Regions from separate parts of the Homo sapiens genome. Here regions 2, 3, 4, 5 and 6 are each linked to region 1. Evidence: promoter capture Hi-C in 16 types of primary human blood cells and fetal thymus (Javierre and others, 2016). All regions are on one chromosome and are shown on one strand. The core of a region is centred on a gene start or on the middle of the fragment in contact, and the rest is flanking DNA. Distances in the headings are between cores, read along the strand shown.

What was found. The method cuts DNA at HindIII sites, captures the fragments that hold promoters and counts their contacts. A CHiCAGO score of 5 or more calls a contact.
Region 2: the fragment with the promoter of IGF2R here is called in contact with the fragment with the promoter of ZBTB2 in region 1 in 2 of 17 cell types (fetal thymus and naive CD4 T cells); the score reaches 6.0 in fetal thymus.
Region 3: the fragment with the promoter of WTAP here is called in contact with the fragment with the promoter of ZBTB2 in region 1 in 2 of 17 cell types (fetal thymus and total B cells); the score reaches 7.7 in fetal thymus.
Region 4: the fragment with the promoter of AGPAT4 here is called in contact with the fragment with the promoter of ZBTB2 in region 1 in 1 of 17 cell types (total CD4 T cells); the score reaches 6.2 in total CD4 T cells.
Region 5: the fragment with the promoter of ACAT2 here is called in contact with the fragment with the promoter of ZBTB2 in region 1 in 3 of 17 cell types (naive CD8 T cells, non-activated CD4 T cells and fetal thymus); the score reaches 9.9 in naive CD8 T cells.
Region 6: a contact is called between a fragment that was not itself captured here and the fragment with the promoter of ZBTB2 in region 1, in 1 of 17 cell types (activated CD4 T cells). The highest score is 5.3, in activated CD4 T cells.

Annotation. Positions count from the first base shown.
Region 1 is chr6:151,388,947-151,393,483 of GRCh38, forward strand. ZBTB2 (zinc finger and BTB domain containing 2) reads right to left here and starts at 2,613. Exons shown (of 3, transcript NM_020861.3): 1 at 2,474-2,613. LOC124901232 (translation initiation factor IF-2-like) reads left to right here. Exons shown (of 3, transcript XM_047419613.1): 2 at 1,008-1,526; 3 at 1,759-4,537. The coding sequence ends at 2,658. RefSeq lists silencers at 1,175-2,104, 2,185-2,574, 2,585-2,644 and an enhancer at 2,626-3,498. The HindIII fragment of the contact is 3,903 bases long and covers 1-3,833 here.
Region 2 is chr6:159,966,954-159,971,499 of GRCh38, forward strand. IGF2R (insulin like growth factor 2 receptor) reads left to right here and starts at 2,129. Exons shown (of 48, transcript NM_000876.4): 1 at 2,129-2,442. The coding sequence starts at 2,294. RefSeq lists silencers at 1,690-2,309, 2,320-2,599, 2,620-2,749. The HindIII fragment of the contact is 4,184 bases long and covers 1,522-4,546 here.
Region 3 is chr6:159,725,703-159,730,023 of GRCh38, forward strand. It overlaps WTAP (WT1 associated protein), which reads left to right and starts at 1,804. Exons shown (of 8, transcript NM_001270531.2): 1 at 1,804-2,001. It also overlaps a transcript of SOD2 not described here. RefSeq lists enhancers at 1,015-1,612, 1,093-1,182, 1,533-1,662, 1,613-2,210 and a silencer at 1,673-2,222. The HindIII fragment of the contact is 6,285 bases long and covers 1-3,670 here.
Region 4 is chr6:161,270,701-161,275,334 of GRCh38, forward strand. AGPAT4 (1-acylglycerol-3-phosphate O-acyltransferase 4) reads right to left here and starts at 3,361. Exons shown (of 9, transcript NM_020133.3): 1 at 3,238-3,361. The HindIII fragment of the contact is 1,627 bases long and covers 2,310-3,936 here.
Region 5 is chr6:159,760,275-159,765,114 of GRCh38, forward strand. ACAT2 (acetyl-CoA acetyltransferase 2) reads left to right here and starts at 1,771. Exons shown (of 9, transcript NM_005891.3): 1 at 1,771-1,868; 2 at 2,645-2,779. The coding sequence starts at 1,814. It overlaps SOD2-OT1 (SOD2 overlapping transcript 1), which reads right to left and starts at 2,058. Exons shown (of 2, transcript NR_037166.1): 1 at 1,720-2,058; 2 at 1-1,362. It also overlaps a transcript of SOD2 not described here. RefSeq lists enhancers at 1,024-1,083, 3,152-3,652 and silencers at 1,514-1,573, 1,594-1,743. The HindIII fragment of the contact is 5,525 bases long and covers 974-4,840 here.
Region 6 is chr6:159,686,774-159,691,553 of GRCh38, forward strand. SOD2 (superoxide dismutase 2) reads right to left here. Exons shown (of 5, transcript NM_000636.4): 3 at 1,353-1,469. Among named protein-coding and RNA genes, the nearest start is that of SOD2, 4.1 kb to the right of the region's middle. RefSeq lists a silencer at 544-794. The HindIII fragment of the contact is 4,400 bases long and covers 1-4,328 here.

The DNA.
Region 1 (4,537 bases), core at 1,363-3,862:
GTAGTGTAGACTGCTCCTCCACTGTTGACCATCAGTGGCACCGGCGTATCACTTCTTGTACTTACGATGGCTTCAATAACTGGACAATTCTTTGTCTAGCAAACAAACCACAAGTTTATTAAATGAGAAATGCCCAGTTTAAAAGGATGTCCTATTAGTGGTAAATTACTATGCCTTTAAAAACTGCCTTCTTGTCCAGGAGCGGTGGCTCACCCCTGTAATCCCAGCACTTTGGGAGGCCAAGGCGGGAGGATCACTTGAGCCCAGAAGTTCAAGACCGTCTCGGGCAACATAGCGAGATCCCTGCCTCTTACTAAAAGGAAAAAAGAAAAAAGAAAAAAATGACCTTTTAACAGTTTGAAAACATCCTGGATACACAACAAGATCATTCAAAATGCAGTGGAATTTACCTTACCAATTTATAATTTTGGTTTGTGATAAATCAGTCAAATGAGAATTAAAATGGCACAGTCCCAATTCTCTATTAAACGTTCAGGGTACTCCCACACTAAAACGCTAGTGGTGTGTACAACTCGCCCTGGTGCTCCAACGGGGTTGGCATAGATGGATGATTTACATTAGCAAGGACAGGGCAGCGCGTTTAAGCAAACCCAGAGACCCCCTGGAGTTCTGATAATTCTGACCTTCTTTATGCTTTATTTTACTAAAACAATACCCTGATAAAATGAATAGAATCAAGGCTCACAAACTCAGTGGACCCATTGTATGATGAAAGAGCTAATGAACAATGCAGCTGGGGGAGGCGGGGAGCGAGAGCCGGGTTATATCCCCAAGGCATAATTAGGAGTTCACGTATTCGGGTGGAAGTTCCTGCAGTAAAAGGCGTAGCTGCAGCTTCTCCCGGCCCAGGCACTCGCCTGCTCTGCTACCCTCGCTTCTTTATTGCCTCTTTTACTACCAGCTAAAAGCGGCAAAACCCAGCTTCCTTTGCAGCTTCTGGCTAAAAAGTTCTCTCTTGCGGCTTTGTTTAAACAAGAAGGGTTTAGAGGTTTCGCTACACCGAGAAAACGACGCCGGCCCCGGGAAGCAGCCTCCCCGCCTTGGAGTCCGGTTGGGGCGTGAGGGCCGCGCGGGTCCCACGCCCCAAGGCTAAGCAGCCGAAAGCACAGCGCGCTCGGGGCCAAACCGGGCTGTATCGCAGGCGCAGATGGCGCGTCGGGCGGAAGCTGGAGGCCGCCGGCTCAACACGCTCCGTACCCGGGACTGGGGCCCGGCCTGCAGCCTCAGCGAGCAGGCGACAAGGGCGGCGCCACAGAGGCCGACGCGTCCCCCGCCCGCCTGAGCGCGCCGCAACAGCCACCTCGTCCCACCCGCCCCGGGGCGGGGCCGGGGGCGCGGCGCCGGGGCCCTCTGGCCCCCTCCGGTCTCGCCGGCCCCGCCCCCTCCCTGTCCCCGTCCCCGAGGGGCTGAGGGGGAGGGAGGGGCGACGCACTCCGGCCGCGTTGCACGCTCGCCGCTTCCCTCAGTCCCGCGTGCGCGCGCGCGCTCGCCCCAAGTCCCGCGGAGTTTAACACAATGCCGACGCCTACGCCGTGCGCAACGCCCCGGCCGGCGCAACAGCCCCGGCGCCGGGGGCGGGGGTGGCCCAGACAGGGAGAGAGGGAGAGGGATGAGCGCGCGCGAGAGCCGGAGACAGCGCGAGACCCGAGGAGGCCGGAAGCGCGCGTGCGCGCCCCCGCCCGCGAGCGGGAGGCGGAGCCGCAGCAGTAGCGGCAGCAGCTGTAGGAGCCGCTGCAGCTGGGAGAAGCGCCAGAGAGGCCGGGCCTGCTCCGGTCGGACCGGATCCCTCCCCTCCCCCTCCCTCCTCCCTCCCCTCCCCCAAACCCACTTCCGCAGCTCGCGGCCTTGCCGCCGAAGCAGCAGCGGCGGCAGCAGCAGGAGGCGGCGGCGAGGCGTCGGAAGGATTACGCACCTGACGGGCCCGCCTCTGAGGGCTCCAGCGCGGGACGCTCACCGGCCGCCGCCGCCCAGGGCGCACTTCGCGGTGGCGGCGGGAAGGGAGGGACCGGCCACGGGGAACCGAACGCGAATCGCCCCCCTCCCCTTCCTCCCTCCCACCCTCCCTCCGATCCGCCGCCCGCCCTCTCGGCTTCCGTCCCCTCCCCCTCCCACAAAACCCCGGATGGAGGCGCCGCCGACTCGCCGCCGCCTGGCTCCGGGGGATGGTTTTGTCAAGCGGCCAGAGCCCCGGCGCCAGGCGCAGCCGCCGCCGCCCCCGCGAGGCGCCCCTGCCCTCGCTTCCCAGAACCGGGTCCCCGAGTGGCCCGGGCCTTCCGCCTGCCTGCACCCGTAGCCCTGGTACGAGGGTCATTCGTCGTCTTTGTTGCCACCGCCTCTGCCGGAACCGTTTGCGAGCTCCGGTGGCCCCCGCCCCCCCACCGCCTTCCCGGACCCTGGGCTGGGGGTGGCACGTGGGCACCGGCCCCGGGAGGCGGAGGCGGTGCGCGCTTACCTGTCGCCGGTGCTGCTGCGGCGGGGGGTGTGGAGGAGGCGCCTCTGGGCAGCCTCGGCCGTGCTGTCCTCCCCGCCGCCGCCGCCTCTGCCTCTCGCTGCTGCTGCTGCTGCTGCCGCCGCGGTCGGTGTCTCCGGCGCGGCGGCGGCGGCGGCGGCGGGGCTTTTCCTGTCCGGTTACGTTAAGGTCACATGACCGAGAGAGCGGAGAGACTAGTGCAAAGAGGCTGCGAGCGGCTCCCGCCGGGGGGGAGAGGCGGCGAGAGAGCAGTGGCGGCAAGAGCCCCCTCCGCCCCCCCCCCAGCCGCTCCCCTCCCCCCGCCCGCCTCCGCCTCCTGCTGCTCTGCCGCCGCCGCCGCCGCCTGCAGCACTCCACTGCCGCTCCCACCCAGGCTCCGCGCTCTGCTCCAGCCAAACTTCTGCAGACCATGTGCAGCCGAGGCGAGGAAACTTCTCTCCACCTATTGGGGCTGGAGGCCTGAGTCACAAGCCCCTTGTTTACATAAAGTGTTTAGGTAGCACAAGTCCTTGAGATGCTCGGGGTAGAGATGGAGAGCCACTGCTCGTATCCTTCTGCCGGCTTCTGCTTGAGATCTCTTGGCCTTTACCCTTGTCCCTTGACTTTTCGTGTTTGTTTTAATCTTTAAGACTTGAAATGGAGTGGCCTTTAGAACCGGGGAGATACTGTAAACCAGCAGTATCTTTGTGTCACCAATGGTAACTGAAAGTCATGCTGAAGTACAGATTCCTGTAGCGTGCACAGAGGCAGAGGTGCTTCCTTTACCTTGCAGATGAGTTGAGCGGCGTAAGATGTTTCTGTTAGGGTTGAATTTCATGGTTATTTCAGCAACGATTTTCGTTTTTGAAGTTTTGGCCCCCCCAAAAATGAAAGTCTGCAACGCATGTTTGTTAAGAGAACAGTTTATTCTCCTGTTAGGTTTTGGTCTTTGAGGTATGGATTCCAGAGTTGGCTATTCTGTTAGATTTAGAGGTGTGGAAAATCTTTTAACGGGGAGATCCTGAAACACGGAAACATGGCAGGGAAGTTAGAATTTCCTGATGGTCATTTTTAACATTTTAAAGTTTACTTTTTGGTTGTTGCCATTTTTCTAGAATCCGTGTCTTTTTTGGGGAAATACAGTCCTTTGAGGACTAGAATTTAATGATTTCTTTACACATCTAGGATTTTTTGAGATTTAGAAAGGATATGGCTTTATTCCTAAGGAAGTGGAGGCAGCAGTTTCTAGGATACTCTGGTTTCAAGGCATGCTAACTTGGTTGTGATGTCTAACCCATTTTGGTTTACACAGTCTGACCACTAGCACAATGCCTGGCACATAGTTTACAAATCATTTAAGGCAAGCTTACCATCTTAAGACAATTTAATACATAGAAGTGTCCCTCCTAAAAATCTGAGTTTGATTTAGAAATCCAGTTATACCTGCAGGTACTGATGACTAATTCCTTCTTTGAAGACAAAATAAGCAGCTGTGTAGCTTCAGTGGCTCTCAAATGGATAATAGATTCAGTGTATACTCGCTTTGAACTTTCCTGTTTTTTGATCAGCTAGATAAATGACTTTAGTGGGTAAATGTCTGCCTCCAAAACCAAATTCTGACCCTGATCTAAGTATTCTACTGCACCGCTGTCACTGGAATATCAAAGTTGGCCTTCAGACTGGTGCCTGGTTCCTTGGATTGGCTTGAGTATTGAGGTCTGTCTCATCTTACTAGGGAACTAAAATGATGTTGATTGTTTTGTAGAGAATTGTAATTAGAGATCTGTAGGTTCTTAATTCTTTTGGAATTCCATTCTGAAAATTTTCAACCTTATGGTGTTGGTGGAGTGCTCATGTGAAGAGTGAAACTGACTTAAGAATAAAAGAAAAAGTGGGCAAAACTAATGCTAAACTTGAGACCATTGGGCAGAAATTTGCCTGTGTGTGTAGAGTAATTGGTCTTGAGTCAAAGTAACTATGCTTATTTTTAACATCACTGAATATTTTCTAGCGTTACACTCTATATAGGCTTGTAGAAATAAACCCAGGGGTAAGCCCAGAAATTGA
Region 2 (4,546 bases), core at 879-3,378, 8.6 Mb after region 1:
TTTTGTCTTTAGAAATGCAAATTGTGTCTATTGCGTACGCAGCTGTTTTTTGACCTATGGTTACTGACCAATTTTCCATCTATAGACAACCTTATTTCAGCATTCCTAACTGCTTGAATATTTGTTGGATTCTCCTTGGATTTTCCTTTGAACCAGCTGTGACATGTTACCGGTTCTCACATTAATGAATGAGCTAAGGAATACCTTTGATACATGTTCATTCTACATCTGAGTCATGATTATACCATCTTTTAAATATTACCCTTTAGCATTTTTTATTGCATCACTTTAGAAAGCAGAAAATGCTAGTTTTTTAAAAATTGGTGATACTAGTTTTAATTACTTGATTAAGGTGGTTCTACCAGATCTTTCCATTGTGAAGAGGTATTTTGTGTTTTTTAAGGAAGTATACTTTGAAGGTGATACTTTGAGACAAAGAGAATATTCCGCTTCACAATAATTTTTCACCAGATGGTTTTAGTATTTACTGATGGTCTTTGCCTGTATCCATTATAACACTGGAGTTGCAAAACACAAACCCTTTTTCTTTTTTTTTTTTTTTGAGATGGAATCTCGCTCTGTTTCCCAGGCTGGAGTGCAGTGGCACGATCTCTGCTCACTGCAACCTCTGCCTCCTGGGTTCAAGCGATTCTCCTGCCTCAGCCTCCCGAGTAGCTGGGACTACAGGCGTGTGCCACCACGCCCGGTTAATTTTTTGTATTTTTAGTAGAGATGGGATTTCACTGTGTTAGCCAGGATGGTCTCGATCTCCTGACCTTGTGATCCGCCCGCCTTGGCCTCCCAAAGTGCTGGGTTTACAGTCGCGAGCCACCGCGCCCGGTCACCACAAACCCTTTTTCGACGTCCACAGTTTACACCTGAGCTCTCCCTTTGACCCACTACAACACTTTCTTTTCTTGGGCAATATATTAATAGCACGGTGGTTATGTCACAGGCCTGTGACTGGCTTGGGCTCAAACCCGGGCTTTTTCACTTACTAGCTGCAAGACTAACTAGTTATTTAATTTCTCCATTCCTCACTTTCCTTATCTGCAAAACGGATGCAATAAAGGCACCCCCTCTTACAGGACTGTTAGGATTAAATGAGCTAAATCACAGTGTCCGAACACTTCAGTACTTCGTACATAATTACTTGCTCAAGAAATGTTAGCTATTATTGGGTCATGATTATTTATATGTGTTTGAATTCCAGCTTTGCCACATCCCAGAGTGTCTTTGAGTAAGTCACTGAGTATCCTTGTGCCTCAATTCCTCATCTATAAGTAGGTTCCCATCTCATAGGTTTTTAAAGATTCATGCTTACATGCTTAGCAGTGTCTGGTATGGAATAAGCACTAAAAAAGATGAGCTTTTATGATGATGATGATTACTATTTTCAGTCATGATTATTTTGTATATTTACTCTAAAAGAAAGTGAATTTTTTTAGTTCAAGACTTTTAGATTCATCGTTCTACTTTCATTGTGGCTAGCTCATGGCCATCCACGTAGTGAATTAATAAAGCTTTGTTGAGTGGCACTTGCTTGACAGCGACACTTTTGTCCACTCTTTCACCTTGCTGGATTTGTGCTGCCTTCCTTGCTGTAGGAAGCCCACGCTTGGGAAATAACATTCCCACAGAAGGTCTGAGAGGCTCTGACGGGCCAAGGTTGTAAACCCCCATGATTTGACTCCACGGGCAGTTAAAGTGTGTTCCCACCCCCCACGGATCCGCTGCCACTAGGCTGTGCGAAGGCATTTACCTCCCTGGCACTTTGATCCAAGTTCCCTATTTTCCCCTACTGGTCGATCGAGGTTGGGAACAGTTGCTCTAACCTGGGAAGCACCCGCCACGATCCAGCAGGGCGCGGTGGGAGGGGAAACTGAGGCCCGGCTAGGCACCCCCGCCGCGCCCAGCCCGCCGAGAGGCTCAGGCCCCGGGAGGCACCTGGAGCCTGCGCCCCGCCCGCGCCGCTTCCTGTCCCGCGCGCTGCGCTCACGTGACCCGGGCCTGGGAGGAGCCGGGGCGGGCGGGGGTCACCTGAACAAGGGAGTCACGTGAGCGGGGGGCGGGGGTGGGGGGGCGGTGCCGGGCGGCTGTCACGTGACGCGGTTCCGGGGCCGCCGCTGCCGCTGTCGCTGTCGCCGAGCCCAGTCGAGCCGCGCTCACCTCGGGCTCCCGCTCCGTCTCCACCTCCGCCTTTGCCCTGGCGGCGCGACCCCGTCCCGGGCGCGGCCCCCAGCAGTCGCGCGCCGTTAGCCTCGCGCCCGCCGCGCAGTCCGGGCCCGGCGCGATGGGGGCCGCCGCCGGCCGGAGCCCCCACCTGGGGCCCGCGCCCGCCCGCCGCCCGCAGCGCTCTCTGCTCCTGCTGCAGCTGCTGCTGCTCGTCGCTGCCCCGGGGTCCACGCAGGCCCAGGCCGCCCCGTTCCCCGAGCTGTGCAGGTGGGTGGCCCGCCCGGACGCAGGCTCCGCTCGCGGTGCCCGGGGTGAGCGGCCGGCGTGGGGGGCGGGGAGCGCTCGAGGAGCTCCTGGGGTCTCCAAGTCGCCTCCGTTCCGCGCCGGGGTCCGCCCCGTTCCCGAGGGAAAGTTGCCTGCGTGGTGTCCGCGAGTCCCGCCGGGTCCCGTGCGCAGGCGGGGGGCGCGGGGGCACACGCGGTCGTGGCGGTCCTGGAGCCCCGCGTCCGGCCACTTGTGGCTGTCGCTGAGTCGGGGGTGGCTTTGTGCGGAGCGGTCGCCCCGGCCCTTGGGGTCGGCGCCTGCCCTCGCGCGGCCGGGCGTCCGGGAAAGTTGGAGGCAGGAACTCCAGTTTGCTTTGTTCCCGCTGCGCGTTTGCATCAGAGTTTCGCCAGCGGGGCACCGGTGAGGCCCCTCGGTGTGGAGAGGCTCACCGGGGCGTTGGAGCCCGCAGGAATGGTCCTGGAGTTGAGTGTTTGTGGTTTCATTTGCTGATTGATTTCCCCCCGTGGGCTCATTTTCTCTTTAAAGAATATATATATATATATATTTTTAGCAGGCGGTGACTTTTGTCTTCTTTAGATTGGGGGCAGGGGGTGTCGTCCAGTGTGAGCTTTCAAGACTTGACCCTTCACTTCTCTGAGCCCAACTTCCTGCCTGGTTGCTCACATGATGTCATTGTCTCCGGGGCGGATTATTCTAGTGGATCTTGCTCTGGGAACCATGATTGTATAACCCATCAGTCCCATCGAGGGCTGTTCACCTCGCGCAACTGCTAGCAGTCCAGGGCCTGGGGAACTTCGAATTTCAGGAATTTTCTGACCATCCTTTTCTGGACTGTTTAGGATGATGGAAAATTCAGCTTTTGTTTATTTTTTTAAACTTTGGTAAAAAGGAAGCAGGATGAAAAGTTTTGAACAGACAACAGTTTCTCCCTGTTACTGTTACTTTTACAAGTTACTTTTACAAGTTACTTTTCAGAGTGAAACAAAGTTGAGCCTACTTTGGGCTGAACTTGGAGTTTGTGGTAGGGTTTATGGGGGGGGTTCTTATTTTTCCCATGCATCAGAGATAGTTTTATTAGCACCCCTGTGTTCAGAACATGCAGAAATTAGTCTAAGGAGGGTGAGGCTGATCTCACGATAGAAACTCTTTGGAAAGGCCCATATTTTTTATGCTCCCTTTTTTGGAAGGGGAAGGGTGGATGGAGGGAGAGTTTGTGACACTAGTTTAAAGACCAGTTAGCTACCCTAAGATACATAGTTACTCCAGTAACTAGTATGATACAGAGAAATGGTGGCAGCTTAAACGAGGTCAGGCTGAGAACAACATTTAGAGGAAGGCATTTTGGAATAATGGCTTCTGTGACCAAAAATAAGAAATTAACTCGCCTGGGCGCGGTGGCTCATGCCCGGAATCCAGCACTTTGGAAGGCCGAGGTGGGCGGGTCACTTGAGTCCAGGAGTTGGAGGCCAGCTTCAGCAACATGGCGAAACCCCGTCTCTACAAAAAATATGAAAATTAGAGCCGGGCGCGGTGGCACACTCCTGTCCTCCCAGTTAAGGGAGGCTGAGGTGGTAGGATAACGTTAGCCCCGCAGGTCGAGGTTGCAGTGAGTTGTGATCGAGTCGAGTTGCACTCTAGTCTGGGCGACAGAGCAAGGCCCTGTCTCAAAAATAAATAAATAAATACAATAAGAAATTAACCCAGCTGGCCTAGTGTGGTTGAAGTCTTGGTCTTGTTAACAAATTGAAGTTTGTTTTCTTCACAGTTAAGATTAAGGTGGCTTCAAGGGCAGACTGATACTTTGGCTGATTGATGGGACCCTTACTTTTGCATTAGGTTAGTCATGGCAGTGTCTTGAACCTGTGTTCACGAACTTCATCTCCAGGTGGAACACGGCCTCTTGGTCTAGTAGGAATGGCCTTTGTATCTTTACGTTTTTCTGGCCACTGTCACACGTGGGCATACTTAGCAAATGCTGAAGAGGTTTCTGAGGTTGATATGCATTGTGAATATAATAAGATCTGCCCTTTGTAGTCTTAGAATATCTTAAAAGTTGTGTTTAATTTTTCTGCCAGATTTTCTTAGG
Region 3 (4,321 bases), core at 554-3,053, 8.3 Mb after region 1:
GGATATCCTTCCAATTCCTCCCCGAAAATAAGCATATACACATAAATATTCATATTAAATATAAATATATATTTTTATGTATTTAAGTAAATACATAAAAGCATATATGCTTATTTTTGCTTTTGAATACAGTGAATACTTACTACACTTAAATATTTAAGTGAATACTTAATACAACCTGAGACTCATTCCAAAGCAACACACGATTATTTCCTGAATCTTTTTAATGGTTGCATTGTGTTCTACTGTATGGATGCACCATTCCCAATCAGTTCCCTATTAACGGATATTTGGGTTATCCCTAACTTTTGCTATGACAAATAGCACTGCAATAACCTTGTATACCTATTGTTTCCATGTGTGGAGCTGCACCTTCAGAATAAGGTTAGGGTTAGAAGTATAACTGCAAGGTATAAGAATAAACACAAGTAATTTTGTACTCCGTGGAACTTGAACCATTTTTCCACTCCCACCAGGAAAGGTAATTTCAACGTGTATTTCCATTGTAAGTGAGGTGGAGCGACTTTCTATGTTTAAAGACCATTACGGTATTTTTTCTGAGAATCATCTGTTCATGTCCTTCCCCATTTTCTCCTTTGGCTTTTGCACTTTTTGTTTTCAATTTTTGAGAGCTCTTGTGATACGAGTTGCAAAGATTTTCTCCAGACCGATCTGATTCACTGGAAATATACTACGACCATCTGGAATGTACTTTAATCTTATCCTAATAAATCACCTTACTACAAGACACTCCTTTGGGGATGAACAGGTTTGATAAAGCCGGCTAAGGACAGACCAATCAAAAGAATTACGTGCTCTTCTAGTAAGTGTTTAGAGACTGTTTCACGTTCTCCAGGTAACACCGCCATTACTCGGCGGTCCAGATGGCAGTCTTACTTCAGGGAGTCTACTCCACTTGCAGGACCTCTTTGATTGAGTTCACTAAACCTCACAGGGCCGCCTTCCCCGTGTTCCAGTTAGCAAGGGGCCCTCAACGCCGCGGACACAGCGCAACCTCCGACGCCAGAGAACAATAGCTCCTCGATGCGTCTCCAGAGATGTCAAGGAGGAACGAACCCAGCGGCCAGGAGACTGCGCCTCACGACTGATGAGAGGGAAGGCATCGGTTTCTAAGTTCTCAAAACTTACAGGTGAGCTTCTGCTAAGAGTAAACGCCCGCGGCTCGCCGCCCACGGCCTCTCTCTTGAGGTGGCACCTGGTCCTCCGACACGCGGAAGCATCACGGATGAGCGTCACGAACACAGAGCGGCCAATCACGCGCCGCCTTCGCCCAGATCCCTCCGCACGAGGCAGCCCCGCAGCCGCAGGTGGCCCCGGCGAGTACTTCCACCTTCCCTTCCCGTGATGCCCTGGGGCTGACCTCCGACCTCGCTGGCCCGCCCCTCCCCTCGGCCGCTTCCCTTACTGAGCTTGCTGAGCTCCGGGGCCCGCGGAGCTCGCGCCAGGCTCCTGGGAAAGGACGGGGAGTGTTACCGGGGAGCAGCTGCTCCATTGTGCCTCGAGGCCCCGATCGGGCTAGGCCGACGGCCTCCCTCCCTTCACCTTTCCTCTCCTGGCGGGGTTCGGCGGCGGGCGAGTGACTGCGGCCACGCCTGAAAGGCGACTCTCCTGTGAGTGGGCCAGAAGGCGAACATGGCGGAGCGGGGAGGCTGGCGGGAGGCGGGAGGCGGGAGGCGGGAGGCAGTGGCGCTGGCCTGCGGCGCGTTCGGACCGGCTGTGGGGCGGGGCAGGGCGGAGCGGAGCCGTGCGGCGGGGCGGGGCCGGGCGGCGGGGCCTGGTTTCCTCCCTCAGCGCCATTTTGTGGCAGCGAGACCCACAAATAAAGGGGAGCGCAGGGGTTGCGGCGGGACTAGGAGCGCGGCGGGGCCGGCGGCAGAGCTGTCCGGCTGCGCGGTGGCCCGGGGGGCCCGGGCGGCAGGGCAAGCAGCGCGGCCTCGGCCTATGCGACCGGTGGCGCCGGCGCGGCTTCTGCCTGGAGAGGTAGGCGCGGGCCGGCTGGCGGGAGCGGACGCGGGGGACCTCCGGGGCCTGAGGGCTGATGCGCAGCCGCCCCCGGCGGGTAAGGGGCGGGCAGGGCCCGAAAGGCCACACGGGCCTGGTGCGGCACCGGTCTCTCGTGAGCCGCTCTACCTTCCCGCCTGCGGGGAACACTTCCGCCGCTTCGAGGCCATTTTATCTCTGTCCTCCGTCCCCAAGGCCCGGGTTGAGAGGGGTGCTCTGGCGGCCGGAGAGACCGGCCACTCACGGAGGCCGGAGGATGCCCTCCCCGGGCTGAGCGGCGGCGCTCGTTTTTTCCTCGCCTCGGGGTCGCCCCCTTCACCTCCCTTGGGCCTCTCCTGAGGACCTGGCGGCACTAACGAGTTCAGCAAGGAAAAAAAGAAACATTCGTTCCCTACATTTCATGTCACGCAGTAGGATGTTACTACGTTCTCTTGTAGACTTCCATTTTTAAATGAGTATAAGCATTCTGAGGAAAGAAACTGAATTATTGCAGATTTTTGTGAAATCCAAGTCTTACCTTGGATCCCTGTGAGACAGTTACTAGATTTTTTTTTCACCGTTTTTCATAAGTCTGTGTACACGTAATGGAAAAGCCCGAGTTCTTGTTTTGATAAGAAAGTCACTTGGTTGTTTGATCCCAAAGGATTAGCTTAACATTATCAAGGACTAGCATAACTGTGATTATGTAAAAAAAACAAAACAAAACAAAAAAACTATTATTTAGTCTGGTAGGGAAATACTTCTATGAGTATGTTACAATTGGAAGTTGTATTTGTGCCTATTTTATCTAGTTTTAGTTAATTCCATTGCTTCGGAAGATAAGTGGACGTCATAGATCCATCGCAAGTTCTCGTTTTTTGGATTTTAAAATTTTGACCATTAAGTTTTCTACGATAGATAAACATGTTGTGGACATTTAAAACCGTAATTTAAAACTATGAGCGAAAAATCTTTTCAAGATGGATACATTTTAATTCATTCAAGTAGCATCTGATTAGCCAAGTCGGGGAAAGATTGCAGTCCGCAAAGCTGGCTTGTGATAAGGTTGAGGTTACATTTTAAGGGTTTGGGTAGGTGTGTTTCTTACAGTGCTTTTATATGTTAAGGTATCTTAAGCAGACACATGGTTTAAAAGTTCAGTATTTTTAGTACTTTTTCATTGGCAGAATTTGGACAAGCTACCAGAATTGCTAACTCCTAAAGGATAAAAGTAATAATAATAGTGTGTCCCAGGCACTGCTTATTTTTACATGGCTCTTTTATGTCTAGCTTTTCCAATTCAACGTTGAGTCATGTTTGCTGAAAATATTTTTGTGTATTGTTTGTCAGAAATAAGCTGGTAGAGATGAAACACAATGTGTAAAAAGCCCTGTGATGTGGAGATGAGCATTGTCACAATTTGTACAGTACATTAAAGCGTTCAAGGTCTCTTATGGTCTTGTATGTAGTATTGAATCCCCTTGAATATATTGTTTAGCAGTTTTGATCATTATGTATTTGCTTCTTGCTCCTCAAAATTGTACGTTAGTTAGTAGGTCCTTCAGCAAAAGAAGACTGAAGATAGTATTTTGGTTTTATTCTTGTTTTTAATTTTTTTAGTTGTCTCCAACTTTTCTGCCTCTAAATATTTTGCTTCTTGTAGTTACTAAGCTTAACACAGAAAAACTTTTCAGTATCTCCACAATAGTAAACTTCATTGTGTATTGTGTATAACAAGATGTTCCATCTGACTAAAATATATTGCTGTAAATATTTTCTGCCTTTGAAGATGTAGTTAATAGAATTTAATCTTTTCTAAGTGCACATTGAAGTTGCCTTTTATGTTCATATTATGTTCATATTTTATTTGAAAAATCTATAGCATTTTTATTGTGCTGAAAGCATTAATATTTGCAGCACTTTGTGAGACAGGCAAAATTATCTTTTTGCTGACTTGGAAACTGCAAGAGTTAAAAGACTTGCTTGGAATCACACATGGCAGATAGAGGATAAGGAAAAGATGGCCTTTCAGTTCCTCATCAGTACCTTGCTACTACAGTGTCTGCAGATTGGTGTCTTACATTCAGCTATGATTTGTTCGCCAAGGTACCGTGTCTTCTTACTGAAGTTGTTTTGGCTGGCGCTTGCCTCCGTTCAGAGGGAACTGAGTTACCTAACTTTATGATGCTAAGAGCCAGGAAGGTACTGGGATCTGGGATGCTAGGCACCTAACCAGTCTAGACTGAACTCCATACTAAGCTGTTTTTCTGTGTTAAGGCATCAAGAGTAGATGGTGGTCCTGATTTTCTGAGATATATTA
Region 4 (4,634 bases), core at 2,111-4,610, 9.9 Mb after region 1:
GAATCCAGGAGGGGGAGGTTGTGGTGAGCCGAGATCACGCCATTGCACTCCAGCCTGGGCGACAGAGCAAGACTTCATCTCAAAAAAAAAATAAATGTGAATGCGGCTTTGTCCCATAACCATCAGACCTCCTTTCCAGAATAAAGGAGACTGCACAAAACGTGTGACATTTACCAAACCCTCATTTGAGCATCCAATAATTTAAAACAATGGCAATGGCAGGAATTATGAAGATGACATTCCGGGTAAGTTCCTGGTTGCGTCTTCCCCAGTTTCATACCTGTTTAAAGTCTAGTGTAAGTCTGGCCTTTCGTTGTTAAGCTGAAGCTAAAAAAGTATTGGATTAGGAAGGATTCTGCCTTCTGTTCAGTCTTCTAACAGTCCTTCTTTTTCTGATTAAGAAAAACTTCTGTCCCCAATTTACATCTACTTATGCTTTCAACCAGCACAGAGTATACCTGCTCTACTTCTATACTAAAGACTGACTTCTCCCTTCTTGGAGTTAAGAACCCTGAACCATGATCCATTTCTTACCATCCACCTTTGCTATCTAAGACACCCTCTCCTTCTTCCCTTGAACCGTCTGCCTCCTCTCCTATAAAGCTTCAGCAGCAGGATGAAGACTCTCTAGTATTCTTCTCATACTAATTGCGTCTCCTTGACTGGCTGTTGCCTCCCCCTTCCTTCCAGCTGGGTGCTCTGCTCTTCTTTTCGCCACCCGTTTGGTGGATTTTAAGCTTGAGAGCACAGACTACAACTGCTGCCTTCTTCACCAACTTCACAGCAGAGCCTTGCAGACAGTAAAATCCCAATAAAATGACGGCTGACTCACCCTCTGGGTGTCACCTCTGTCAGCCTCTTCCATGGGACCCTACGTTTACTTTATACTCACAGCTCCACTTACCTTCCCTAGGCCAAAGCTGCTAACTGCTTTAACCTCTACTCAGCATCTGAATATCAGACAGTGTTTTGTTTGTTTATTGGGTTTGGGTTTTTTGTTGTTTTTGTTTTGGCTGTGCTTCTGAGGAAGTCTTGCTCTTTTTCCTTTCAGTTCTATTCCATTAGGCTTTTTGCTGTGAAATTTTGAATCTGGAAACTCAAGAGAACCGACATCGCAGACTTTGATTTACATGCTGTCAATCTGCTTTGGAAGGTCATGTGGCAAATCTGCCCTTGAGGACCATTTTCAGACAGGAAAAACAGTAATTTCAGCCTGGCTGCTTTTCAGAATTCTTTGCAAACATCAGATGCTCACAATCCAACCGTTTCTCTGTGTACTAACATGTGCTTTTCAAAATGAGTGTCATATTCTTTTTAGTAATACTTTTCTGTGTGTTATGCCCTTTAAATAGTTCTCGTCTTTAACTCCATGTGGCTCTGGTTTGTTTTGTGCCATGCTATTTTGCCCCATTTTCAGGTAACTTTTCTACCTGAATTACTTAGGACCTCTGGATTTATAGCAGATTTGATAAGACATAGATGATAGCATATTTAGATAAGGATCACAGCAAACAGAACCTCACTGAAACCACCCATTCTTCCTGCTTCCACATGGCAGGGTTGCTCAAGGTTTATAAGTAATGATTTTGGCTTTAGCAGCCGGAAGGTATGAGGGCTAAGTGACCTTCACACATGTTTATCTTAAATTATAGATAATTTTAAGAGTCATGAATGGGATTACTACTTATCTATTTTATAAAAGCTAATTATTTGGGATGCCCATCAGAAGAATGGTATCCCTTATCAAACGCTTCCTTAGACGTACTGAATAAAAGCATCAGTTTAGCCGGTACCTGTTAAGAGGCTATGTCTTTCTAAGAGATGTGTTATTTGATTCTAATTATAATTAACTTTGCTTATTACTAAGTAGATAATAATTTTCTCATTTCATATTTTTTCTGAATAACAGTTTTTCTCCCCATAGAGAATATTCAGAAGATGGAATCCTTTTAACGTAGAACTCAAGATGTGCCCTGTTCTCCCTGCCCGCCTCCCATTTCCCTAAACACACACACACACACACACACACACAAACACACACATTCTCCCTTCTCTCAAGATACTTTTTTTCCAACTGAGAGTCGTTGACTAATCACAGATGAGTTAATCCTTCCACAGTTTTGAAAAAGTCTAGCAACCCTCACCTTGAAGAGAGTGAATAGCGTGGCTAATCCATCTAAGAACAATGCACGAAAACGAAAAACGGAGAATCCTGCCCGGCAGTTAATTTGTTACTCATACTTGTTGAACTTAAGATTTGGAGCTAAATAAGTGCAGATGAGAGCAAAGACCCATCTTTTAAATATTTAAGCTTTTAGGCAAACCTGGGCAGGCAATATCACATTTATCAGTGCGAATTCTCCAATGCTCTCTAAAACTTTATTTCAATGATCTCACCTCCTGTAAGGAATTAATTCCCCCTTAGCTTGACCACAGGATCAATATCTTATCTTAAGAAGTGTTTAGGTTTTCTAAAAAAAGACCAGACACTGAAGACTTACATAAACATCAAAGCATTCTTTTTTTAATTCCTCGATATGGAGAAATTCATAGGCCGAAAATTAGGTAAATAGAGAGGTAATTACCAATGCCTGTTTCCTTGACAACTCCCCTCCCCCACCCCTCCTGTGATAGGGAAAAACCAAAATGAAAGTGAGGAGGGGTAGCCACAAGCCATGCTGGATTTTAGCAAACCAAAGCAAGAAGCAGAGCAGAAAGCTGCAAACTAGACACAAAATACAAATAAATCAATGTATATCGGGGCTGCATATTGTGTAGTATTTTTGTGGTTGCCATAGAAACGTCAGCGACGGAAGAACATGTTGCATGACACAAAAGAGAGCAATATGTAATAGGAACATTCCCCCCACCACCACCCCCCGCCCAGCTTCGTCTATAGCAGAGAAAATGCTTTAGCCCCGGGAGGGGGCTGGGTGGGTGGGTAAATGAAGCCAGGAACAGCAGCTTGAAATCACAGCCCAGAAAGGGACGCTCACCCGGCCCAGCACAAAGCGAGGGTCCTTTTGTACCAGCAGAGCCTCTCTTCGCCTCCCTCCAGGCGCCCCCTGCACCTTTCCCCCGCCCGCCTTGCACTCCCCCCCCGCCCCCGGAGCCTACCCCTTCCAGAGGTCCTAAGGAAATCCAGCCCAGGAGAGAAAAATATGCTGGGAAGAGGAATGCAAACATCAGCCACACCCAGCGGGGAAGGTGCCTGCGAACGGCACCAGGACCACATACCTCCTTCCTGGCAGCCTTTGGCACATGGACTTAGAAACCAGAAGCTGAGATGGAGCCGGCTGGGTTCAGAAATTGCCACTAGTTTATAAGAGCTGTAAGTCAGCCAACACTGGAAAGAAAAAGCGAGACTCCACCCATGGGGTGGACCCTTCAGGAAGAAAAAAAAAAAAAAAGTGGTCCTCAGCTGACGTCTCTCCCCACCCATGTCACTTCCTTTTAAAGCTACAAGTTAGCAGTTGCCGAGAGGGAAGAGCGAGCTGGTGTAATATGAGTCACTCCCTTCCCCTTCCAATTAGTGTAAGGCAGTGCTTCAGTTGGCTTCACGTTTGAAATCGCTTTTGAAATCTGGCTCGGGAAGCTGCCAGGATAAAAAAAAAATGAAAGCCCCCTGGAAGTGGCCTTGCTTTCTCTCCCCTTTCTCCCAAATCCTGTTGCATCCCTGCGCCCTAACGGCTCCTCTAACCTCAACCCAGACTCCGGCTCCGTCTGTGTTGCAACCTGGAAATTGTCCTCAGTTGGCTCATTTTTAATTCAGCAAGCGTAGGATCAATATGCCCACCCTCAAAACTCTCCCCTCACCTCTCCTCGGTCCGCTGTGCTGGAAGGAGATTGCGTTGCACTCAGAAGAGTCCAAATCATCTTAAACAAAATAAGCCTCAGCACTCAAGAGATTGAGATGTTATGAAGTGGGATGAAAGAAGCTTGGAGGTCGATTGATGTATTTTCTGTTTTCAAACCTTAGCACCATGGTTGATTACCACTGCACAGGCGTGCACACACGTACTGTCGCATGCTCACATGCACGTGGCATTTACACAGGTGTATCAGAGAGGGTCTGGGCAGACCTTTATAGTAAAAGTGTCTTCACAATTTTTAAAAAGGGTGGGCTGTTGAAAGTCCAGAAATGCCAGGATCTAGAAAATTATTTCAATTTCAAAATACTGAGGTGTATTCCTTTCAAATGTCCACTATTACAGCCATTGTCAAAATAATATTTAACTATTTACTTGACTCCTGGGTTAACCTTGTTCTTTAGATGTTTATAATCTATAAAGGAAAAATACATGTGCTCACAAATAGCCCAAGCACATTGCAGAATTACTAACAGCTATGCAAGTGTCAAAACCAGTGTGTCATGAAGACAGAATAGAAAGTGCTTTTTTGATTGCGATGGGGGAAGGCATTGATCATTCAGGAAACAGGGTTTGGAGTGGGTCCTATGGGAGGTGGCATTTTTCTTGTCTGTGATGAGAGACGGGGAGAGTGAAGCAGAATGTGGTGGAAGAGAAAGGATATGTGAGGCAAACAAAAAAAGGATCAGAACAGAAACCCATTTGTAGCAATAACTTGTTTTAATATCCATGTGAAAATAAATTTGACCACAGAGTAATGCTTAT
Region 5 (4,840 bases), core at 521-3,020, 8.4 Mb after region 1:
AAATTTTATTTATTTGAGACAGTTTCTCTCTGTCGCTCAGGCTGGAGTGCAGTGGTGTGATCTCGGCTCACTGAAACCTCTGCCTCCTAGGTTCAAGCGATTTTCCCATGTCAGCCTCCCCAGTAGCTGGGATTACAGGCGCACGGCACCACGCCCGGCTAATTTTTCTATTTTATGGTAGAAACGGGATATCACCATGTTGGCCAGGCTGGTGTCAAACTGCTGACCTCAAATGATCCGCCCTCCTCGGCCTCCCAAAGTGCTGGGATTACAGGTGTGAGCCAAGGTGCCCGACCTGATGTGCTTGTAAGAATTTAAATGAAGAGGGTCAGTCAGCTTAGGAGACGAGGTTAGATGTAAGGATTTCAGACTTGTCAGTATACAGGTGGTGATTGATGCCGTAGGAATGACTGGTATTACCCAGGGAGCTGGTGCAAAGTAGGAGCCTTGGGGAACATGTTAAGGGGATGTGAGAGTAAGCCCACAAAGACTCAGAAGTGGCCAGGGAGTAAGGGGAAAATGGGATAGAATAGAGCAAAAGCCACGGGAGGCATTCCTTGAATTCCTTGGACTCAGATATGTTAGGGGACAGGAAACACATTGAAGACAACTGAAGAGACTTCAGTGTGCTGCTGAGTTCTTAGCAGAGTAGACAGCTGATTTCACCACTATTCCAGACCCTAAAGATTTCTCCTGAAATTGCACTGTTATGCAATTTTTTTCCTTCTCTATTGCCCCACCTCTGGGGCCTACACTCTTTACCTTCTCTGATTTATCTGACCCATCCGCATATCTCTGCAAAGTCTTAATGTAGGTTTCCAGGATTTAATGATTCTTTCAATCAACTTTAAAGTTCTTCAGGAAGATTCTCCAGGTCCGTCAACAGTTTTCCCCTTCATGACTTTGTGACAAAGCTTTCTTGTTCCACTATCCAGGTGTTCCCAACAAGTTGCTGTAACGGTGGCCCCTCATAAGCTTGCCTGGAAACCCTAGAAAGCTCAGAAAAATTATGAACTTTGCCCAGTAAGAGGCTGGGAAGTCAGAAAGGGTTTTAAACAAAACTGACCCCACTTGTTACATGCTCCTTTCACTGTCCAAACGTCAACCAAAGGAACTTTTGTGACGCTAAGACGCTCCCGGCGTCCTCACCCGTTCACAGCCAGAGTTGATCTTAGAAGGCAGGGGGCTCGCACCGAGACGCTCCTAGCAAGCCCCTCACGCGAGCGAATGACTGGCGCCAGGAGAAACGCATAGGACCTCCCGAAGCCGCCGAGAGCAAAAGGACCCATCAGAGCTGTGCTGAGACCCGCCGCGGGCCGGGCTCGCACTCGAGATTCTCGCCCGTGGGATTCCAGTCCTGAGCTGAACGAGAGATAAGTCTTTGTCACCCCCCAGTCTTTACTGTTTCGAGAAACCCTAAGATTTTTTAAAAAAAAGCCCAAGACGTCAAGTCGGGGAACTCCAACATTGGGGTGTCCAGAAACACTGGGGTTTCAGGCGCTCTGTAAATGCGTCCGAGGTCCGCGGTTCTGCCCGCAAGCCCAGACCCCGGCCTCACTTCCGCCCCGCGCCCCGCGCCCCGGCCTCACTTCCGCCCCGCGCCCCGCGCCCCGCGCCCCGCGCGCCTCCGCCCGCCCCTGCTCCGGCCTTGCGCCTGCGCACAGTGGGATGCGCGGGGAGGTGGTGCGCGGGGAGGTGGAGGGCGAGGGGCGGGGCTACCTCAGGTCCCGCCCGCGGCAGGCCTGTGGGCTGCGAGGAGGAGCTTTGCCTAGCTTGCAGGCAGCGCAGGGCAGACGGCGGCAGGAGAAGCAAGATGAATGCAGGCTCAGATCCTGTGGTCATCGTCTCGGCGGCGCGGACCATCATAGGTGAGTGGCCGGCGGGAGCCGCGCAGAGTCCGAGGCGCCTGCTGCTTCGGCAGGAGCGCCGAGGGCCGGACTTGTGTAGGAGAGGGGCGTATGTGGAGGAAGCCGGTCAGGCCAAGCCGCGAGGAGCCGCGGGATCCCTGGAACCCTGCGGCTCCCGCGTTCCCTGACCTGGTGCTACAGCCCCACCCTCTCCTCTCCCGATGTGCGCACTCCGTCCCTCGTGCTTGGATTGGCTCCCGGGGTAGAGCCATCGCGTGGCCTGCCTCTCCCATTGGTTGGCGTAGGGAGGTGTTCTCCTCCGGGGCCCCTGATTGGCCGGCTCCGGGAGGCGCCATCGGTAATGCCTGCGGCAGGGGCGGAACTGCTAGGTGGTCTGAGCCCGGCTTTGGGCTGGGGTCGGGCTGTCACACAATGGCTAGAAGTCGTGACTTCGTCTCCTTCGTGCCGCATGGTTTTCAACGCCCTTGACCCGCCGGTTCCTTTTGTTTGGGAAGCATGGGGTCGCATCCAGTCCTTCGGATTTGGGGAAATAGAAGGGCTACAGCGGCGTCCCTAGGCCGTTCTGGAGGTCGCCTGTCCAGCCCTCGGCTGCTGCGAGTTGTGGCACCCACCTTGACCTTTGCTCAGACCAGCAGGTGTAGGAACGTGTGGGAGGAGAGGGCACTGCCTCCTCGCGTGGCCTTGCCAAACAGGGTCATGAGGCTCCCCTGCTCGTAGGTGGTTCCCGTATTACCCGCAGGCTTGTGATGTCCACGCTCTCCGCCTTTCTATTGTAGGTTCCTTCAATGGTGCCTTAGCTGCTGTTCCTGTCCAGGACCTGGGCTCCACTGTCATCAAAGAAGTCTTGAAGAGGGCCACTGTGGCTCCGGAAGATGTGTCTGAGGTCATCTTTGGACATGTCTTGGCAGCAGGTAAGTCTCAGTGATTCCAGGAGAAGTCAGGCTTATTAGAAACAGCCCATAAACACACACACACACACACACTCTCACACACTCACACACTCTCTCACTCACTCAAGTTCTTGCCTCCTTGCTTTTGCTCAGAGTTCCCTCTGTTATGATTCCTCCTGTTGGCCCCCTTCTTCCAGCCCTGTCAGTAGCTTCTATCCAGCTTGAGACTCAGCTTCTTGGCCAGGCAGGGTGGCTCCCGCCTGTAATCCCAGCACTTTGGGAGGCGGAGGAGGAAGGATCACTTGAGTCCAGAAGTTTGAGACTAGCCTGGGCAACAAAGCAAGACCCCGTCTCTACAAAAAATAAAATAGCCAGGTATGATGGCCTGTGCCTCCCAGCTACTGGAGAGGCTGAGGTGGGAGGATCACTTGAGCCCAGGAGTTTGAGACTGCAGTGATTGTGTCACTGCACTCCGTCATGGGTGACAGAGTGAGACCCCTTCTCTAAACAAACAAAAAGACTTAGCTTCATTAATATGCTTTTTGTGAATGAACTTAGACCACTGACCTACACCACCTACACTGCCTTTTCTTTTCCTTTTTTTTTTTTTTTTTTTTTTTTTTTTGAGACGGAGTCTCTCTCTGTGGCCCAGGCTGGAGTGCAGTGGCGTGATCTCGGCTCACTGCAAGCTCCGTCTCCCGGTTTCACGCCATTCTCCTGCCTCAGCCTCCCGAGTAGCTGGGACTACAGGCGGCCCACTGCCTTTTCATTCTTACGAAGCAGGGCCGGCCGGGCCCGGTGGCTCACGCCTGTAATCCCAGCACTCTGGGAGGCCGAGGTGGGCGGATCATGAGGTCAGGAGATCAAGACCATCCTGGCTGACACGGTGAAACCCCGTTTCTACTAAAAATACAAAAAATTAGCCGGGTGTGGTGGCGGGCGCCTGTATTCCCAGCTACTTGGGAGGCTGAGACAGGAGAATGGCGTGAACCCGGGAGGCGGAGCTTGCAGTGAGCTGAGATTGTGCCACTGCACTCCATTCAGCCTGGGCAACAGAGTGAGACTCCTTTTAAAAAGAAGAAGAAGAAGCAGCAGCAGGGCCAGCCTGACGCATAGGAAAGTATGCCTGCTCCTCCTTACTACCTCAAAGTGTCACTCATTCAACAAAAATGTATTCAGTTCCTCCTATGTGCCCCATACTGTGCTTAGTGCTGGGAGTATGGTTCCAACAATACAGGTAAGTTCCCTGCCCTCTTAGGGCTCAGTTCTGAGCTTGGAAAATAGGTGCCACATCATGCCCCTTGCAAATGGGGCATATCACTCCCCAGAGGAATATAGCTGAGTCCTGAGAGTGCCCCCATCTTCTGATTCTTTGGGTTTGAACACTCGTAATTAATTAATTAATTATTATTATTATTATTTAAAGAGACAGGGTCTCACTCTGTTGTCCAGGCTGGAATGCAGTGGTGTAATCAATCGTAGCCCACTATAACCTCAAACTCCTGGGCTCCACGGTATCCTCCCACCTCAGCCTCTGGAGTAGCTGGGATTACAGGAGCAGGCCACCACACCTGGCTAATTTTTTAAATTTTTTTGTAGAAGTGGAGTCTGTCTGTTGCCTGGGCGTGAGTGCAATGGCTGTTCACAGGCACAATCATGGTGCACCATGCCCTTGAACTTCTGAGCTAGCTGGGACTACCGGTGCATGTCTACTAAGTTTAAGGCTTTTAAAGCACTGTGCTAAATGCTTTCCTTTCATTACCTCATTTAATCTTCCTCACAAGTCTGTTATATCCTATTATCTTCATTTTACAAATGAATAAATGAGAGTTTAAGAGGTTAAATGACTTACCAGGGTCACAGTTTGAAGTGGAGCTAGCACTTGAACTTAGATCTGTCCTATTCCTTGAGCCAGATACCTTCTACAATCATGTAACAAATGTTTATTGAGCACCTACTTTGTGCCAGGCACTATTTTAGCAGCTGGAGATAAGCAATGTTCATATCAGATAGAAATTCTCATTCTCATGAAGCTCGTAGTATGCTAAATGCTAGCATTATTAATTGTGTTAGCACCTCATT
Region 6 (4,780 bases), core at 879-3,378, 8.3 Mb after region 1:
CCATAACACTGATTAAAAATGAACAATAAAACCACAGAAACTTAGGGTGCATATCCGGAGCCCAGAAACAAGAGACAAGAACTACATTTACGCCTCATGCCCTCCCTGGGTGAAGAAGATAATTAAAGTCATCTGGGCCTCCACAAGCTACACAGGAAGTCAAGGAAACAGTGATAGCGAACAAGACCATCTAGCCCTGTACTCTCCTCATTCCCTGAACACTTTTTAAAAATACCCAGAAAACCTAATTTCCTGGAACAACTGACTTTTTATCAGTTAGGAAAGAGTGAAAAATAGCAAATGACACTATAATTTAATTCTCAAAACAACACCATTGTTATCCCTGTATCACATAGATGAAAAAAGGTACAGACGGTTAACTATCTAATCCAGGCCCTAGAAACTAGTAGACAGAAAGTTCATCTTTTCTAGACTGGCGCGGTGGCTCACATCCATACCACAGCACTTTGGGAGGCCAAGGTGGGTGGATCACTTGAGGCCAGGAGTTCGAGACCAGCCCCGCCAACATGGTGAAACCCTGTCTCTACCAAAAATATAAAAATTAGCCGGGAGTGATGCCACATGCCTGTAATCCCAGCTACTTGGGTGGCTGAGACACAAGAATTGCATGAACCTGAAAGGCGGAGGTTGCAATGAGCCGACATTGCACCACTGCGCTCCAGCCTGGGCGACTGTAAGACTCCGTCTCAAAAAAAAAAAGTTCATAAAATGAAGTCTCTCAGTCTTTCCCTAATATGAAGTACCATCCAGAAACCAGAAGGTGGAGTTGATGTGATATTCTATGTTGGCGTGAACATAAAATCTTATGACATAACCCCATGAAAGCATTCTCCATTCCTACTTGTGTCCTTTTGAAAGTTACAACTTTTATCATACTCGTTGTTATGAAAAATATGCCACTATGATACCTCTGGTAAGAATAAGGTAACTTAGGCCAGGCACGGTGGCTCATGCCTGTAATCCCAGCACTTTGGGAGGCCAAGGTGGGCAGATCATGAGGTCAGGAGTTCAAGACCAGCCTGGCCAACATGGTGAATGAAACCTCATCTCTACTAAAAATGCAAAAATTAGCCAGGCGTGGTGGCGGGCGCCTGTAATCCCAGCTACTTGGGAGGCTGAGGCAGGAGAATCACTTGAACCCAGGAAGCGGAGGTTGCAGTGAGCCAAGACTGCGCCACTGTACTCCAGCCTGGGCAACAAGAGCAAAACTCTTGTCTCAAAAAAACAACAACAAAAAAAACAAAAAACAAGTATAAGGTAACTTCAGTAAATCAACAATCGATTCCTACTGTGCACAAAATGTAGATAAGGGTGCACCAATATATACCAACCTTTGGGTTCTCCACCACCGTTAGGGCTGAGGTTTGTCCAGAAAATGCTATGATTGATATGACCACCACCATTGAACTTCAGTGCAGGCTGAAGAGCTATCTGGGCTGTAACATCTCCTGAAAAGTTAAAATGCAAACACATTTTTTTGTAACTCCTACTTTTTCAACCACTGTATACATTATATTTTTTTCTTTGTAAGCTATTAGATAATGGGACCAGCTTATCTATAACATCCGTTTGTCCTAAAATTCAGCACCCCCCCGCCCCAAAATTATTTGTCCCAGACATGCTGAACAACTGATGAAGGACCTAGCAGAGGTGGAAAAGCTAGAAAATTCACTCCTGGCTGCTAGGCTCAGGGATCTCTTAGATAGAAGAGATTTTAGGAAATGAAACACCAAAGAGGACAATCAAAATAATAGAATGCTAAAATGTATGGCTCAACATACAGACTGTACAGAAAACCTTCAACTCTCACTTTCAAGACAGACGACGATTCATTGGGAAATATCTCCAAGTCACATTAACAAGAAACTCAACATACTCAAAATTGAACTCCTGATGTTCTACCCCAAACTTACTCCTCCTATTGTCCTCCACGTCTCAGTAAATGCCAGCTCTGTCCCTCAGGACATCCTTGGGAACCTGATGTCATTTTTGACTCCTCTCCCTTCACCCCACATCCAATCCACCAGCATATCCATTAGCAAAGCCAGCTCTACCTTTAAAATACATCCAATCTATATAAAAGCACACAGAGAAAAATAAAAGAAAAAAATAAAACACAAGCAGAACCTAATCCCTTCTCCCTAACTCTACTGCCACCTCATTGGGACAGAGGACCAGTATTTCTCACTGCACTGGTGCCACTATCCCCTCAGTTTTGGGGGGTGGGGGTGGGCCTTGCCCCCTCCAAAGGCTCCCCTTCTCACTGGAGCGAACCCTAGGTGTTTACACTCAGCTACTCTTACTACCAAGAGGCGCTGCACTTGACCCCGTCATTGAGCACGTGCTCACGCAGCTGCAGCCTCACTGGCCTTTTTGCACTCACATGACCAACTTGGATGTTCCCCTCAAGGCTAGCTGAGCACTGCTGCCTCTGCTGAACACTCTTCCCCAAGACAGTCTCATGCTGCGTTCCTGTTCCTCCTTCAAGTCTCCACTGAAACATCAACCCCATCAGTGAAGCCTTCTCTAGCCACCATACATGAATTAGCAACTCCCTGCCACCCCTCCCAGACCCTTTACTCCTTCTCAATAGGCCCTGTAACTCCTGGCATACTGCATGGGTACCTTGCCAAATAAGTAGGCAAAATAAAATAGTCTTTTCTATGCCTTCAAGAAGCTACAGACTAAATGAACTATTAATATTAGAAAAAAATGGAAATCCTCTTGTTTAATAAATATTTTGTGCATATTATCCACAAGATACCAAGAGAAGCAAAGTAAAGGACACAGAGACCCACTGAGAGCTTTGCTCTCAAGGAGCTTACATTTTGGAAAAAGTTCTCAACTGCTGTTCTGAAAGTGTACGTTAAGAACATATGTCTGGGCCGGGTGCGGTGGCTCACGCCTGTAATCTCAGCACTTTGGGAAGCCGAGGCGGGCAGCTCTCTTCAGGTCAGGATTTCAAGACCGGCCTGGCCAACATGGTGAAACCCTGTCTTCACTAAAAATACAGAAATTAGCCAGGTATGGTGGCGCGTGCCTATAATCCCAGCTACTCAGGAGCATGAGGCAGGAGAATGGCTTGAACCCAGGAGGCAGAGGTTGCAGTGAACCAAGAACACGCCACTGCACTCCAGCCTGGGCGACAGGGCAATACTCCGTCACAGAAAAAAAAAAAGAAAGAGAAAGAAAAAAACATACATACAAGGCCAGGTGAGGTGGCTCACGCCTGTAATCCCAGCACTTTGGGAGGCTGAGATGGGCGGATCACTTGAGGTCAGGAGTTCCAGACCAGCCTGGACGACATGGAAAAACCCTGTCTCTACTAAAAAACCCACAAAAAGTAGCCAGGCGTGGTGGCGTACGCCTGTAATCCCAGCTACTCAGGAGGCTGAGGCAGGAGAATTGCTTGAACCCAGGAGACGGAGGTTGTAGTGAGCCGAGATCACATCACTGCACTCCAACCTGCGGGACAGACTGAGATTCCGTCAAAAAAAAAAAAAAAAAAAAAAGTATGTCTGACTAGGCACGGTGGCTCACACCTGTAATCCCAGCACTCTGGAAGGCCGAGGTGCGTGGATAGGGGAGCCCAGGAATTCAAGAGCAGCCTGGGCAACATAGTGTGACCCCGTCTGTTTTTTTTAGACAGAATTAAAAAAAAAATTTTTAAAAGGAACATACGTAGACAATGCTGCTTTCTGAAACAAGCTCCAGTTGTTTAGCGATTCAGAAAGGAGAGAACCAACTGATATCTGAATACACAGCTAATCTCAAAGGGTTTTTTAAAGACACCAACTTTTTTTTTCCTTTGTTAGGTTTACAAACAGTTTTTTATAGATCTGTGTTTCCCTTATTAAATTTTCTTGAGAGTCACTCTAAAAATAGATGTAACTTTTCTATTGTTTTTTAATAAATCAATAGTAACTGAATTTTTAAAATGGGAAAGATACATGCTTAATGAGAGATAATTTAATAATCTTAACATCTTACAGTTTGCTTACTCATTTTAAAATTAATAAAAATTGAGGGCTTAATATCTGCTTTTAAGAACACTTTTCTGAAATTCAACATTTTATTTGGTTTCAGTTTAGTTTTTGCCTCAAATAATAATAAAAGTCAAATGCTTTTTGTTGAAAAATATTCATATTAGTCAGTTAAATGTGATGAGATTATGACATTGTTTTATCTTTTTTCCCCAAGTTTTCAAACATGAAAATCTTTTTAATAATTTTTAAAATATGTTTAAGTAAAAGAAAGCTCTGCAGGTACTCAATCACTTATAAACAATATAGTACAATACAATAAAAAGCTTTTTTCCAGTGGGTTGTATTACATAAGTAAGGCTCTGATTCCACAAGTAAAGGACTGAAATTAAGTTGTTTTTAAAATACTGAAGAGAAAGGTTCCTGGTGTCAGATGTTGCCTTACAGGAAGTACTTTCACAACTGGGGTATTCCCCAGTCTCTCCCCATTACATGTTTCCCAAATTTGTTATTTCCTAAATCACGGGGCCTTTTCCCGTAATTCAAGGTTCGTCTGTCTCAAGTAAATCTTCCAGAATGTGGTAACTTCCTCCTCTTTTAATCATTTACTTCAAACACAATCAGGCTGAAATACTGCATTTTTCCACTAGATGCCTCCAGTCAACAAGATGTGACTGTCTAAAAATTACTCAACAAATTTCATAACCCCGAAATTCAAAACATTTAAGGAAAAGTAAACATTTTTTACTACGTAGCTTACCAAGCAATACAGAGAG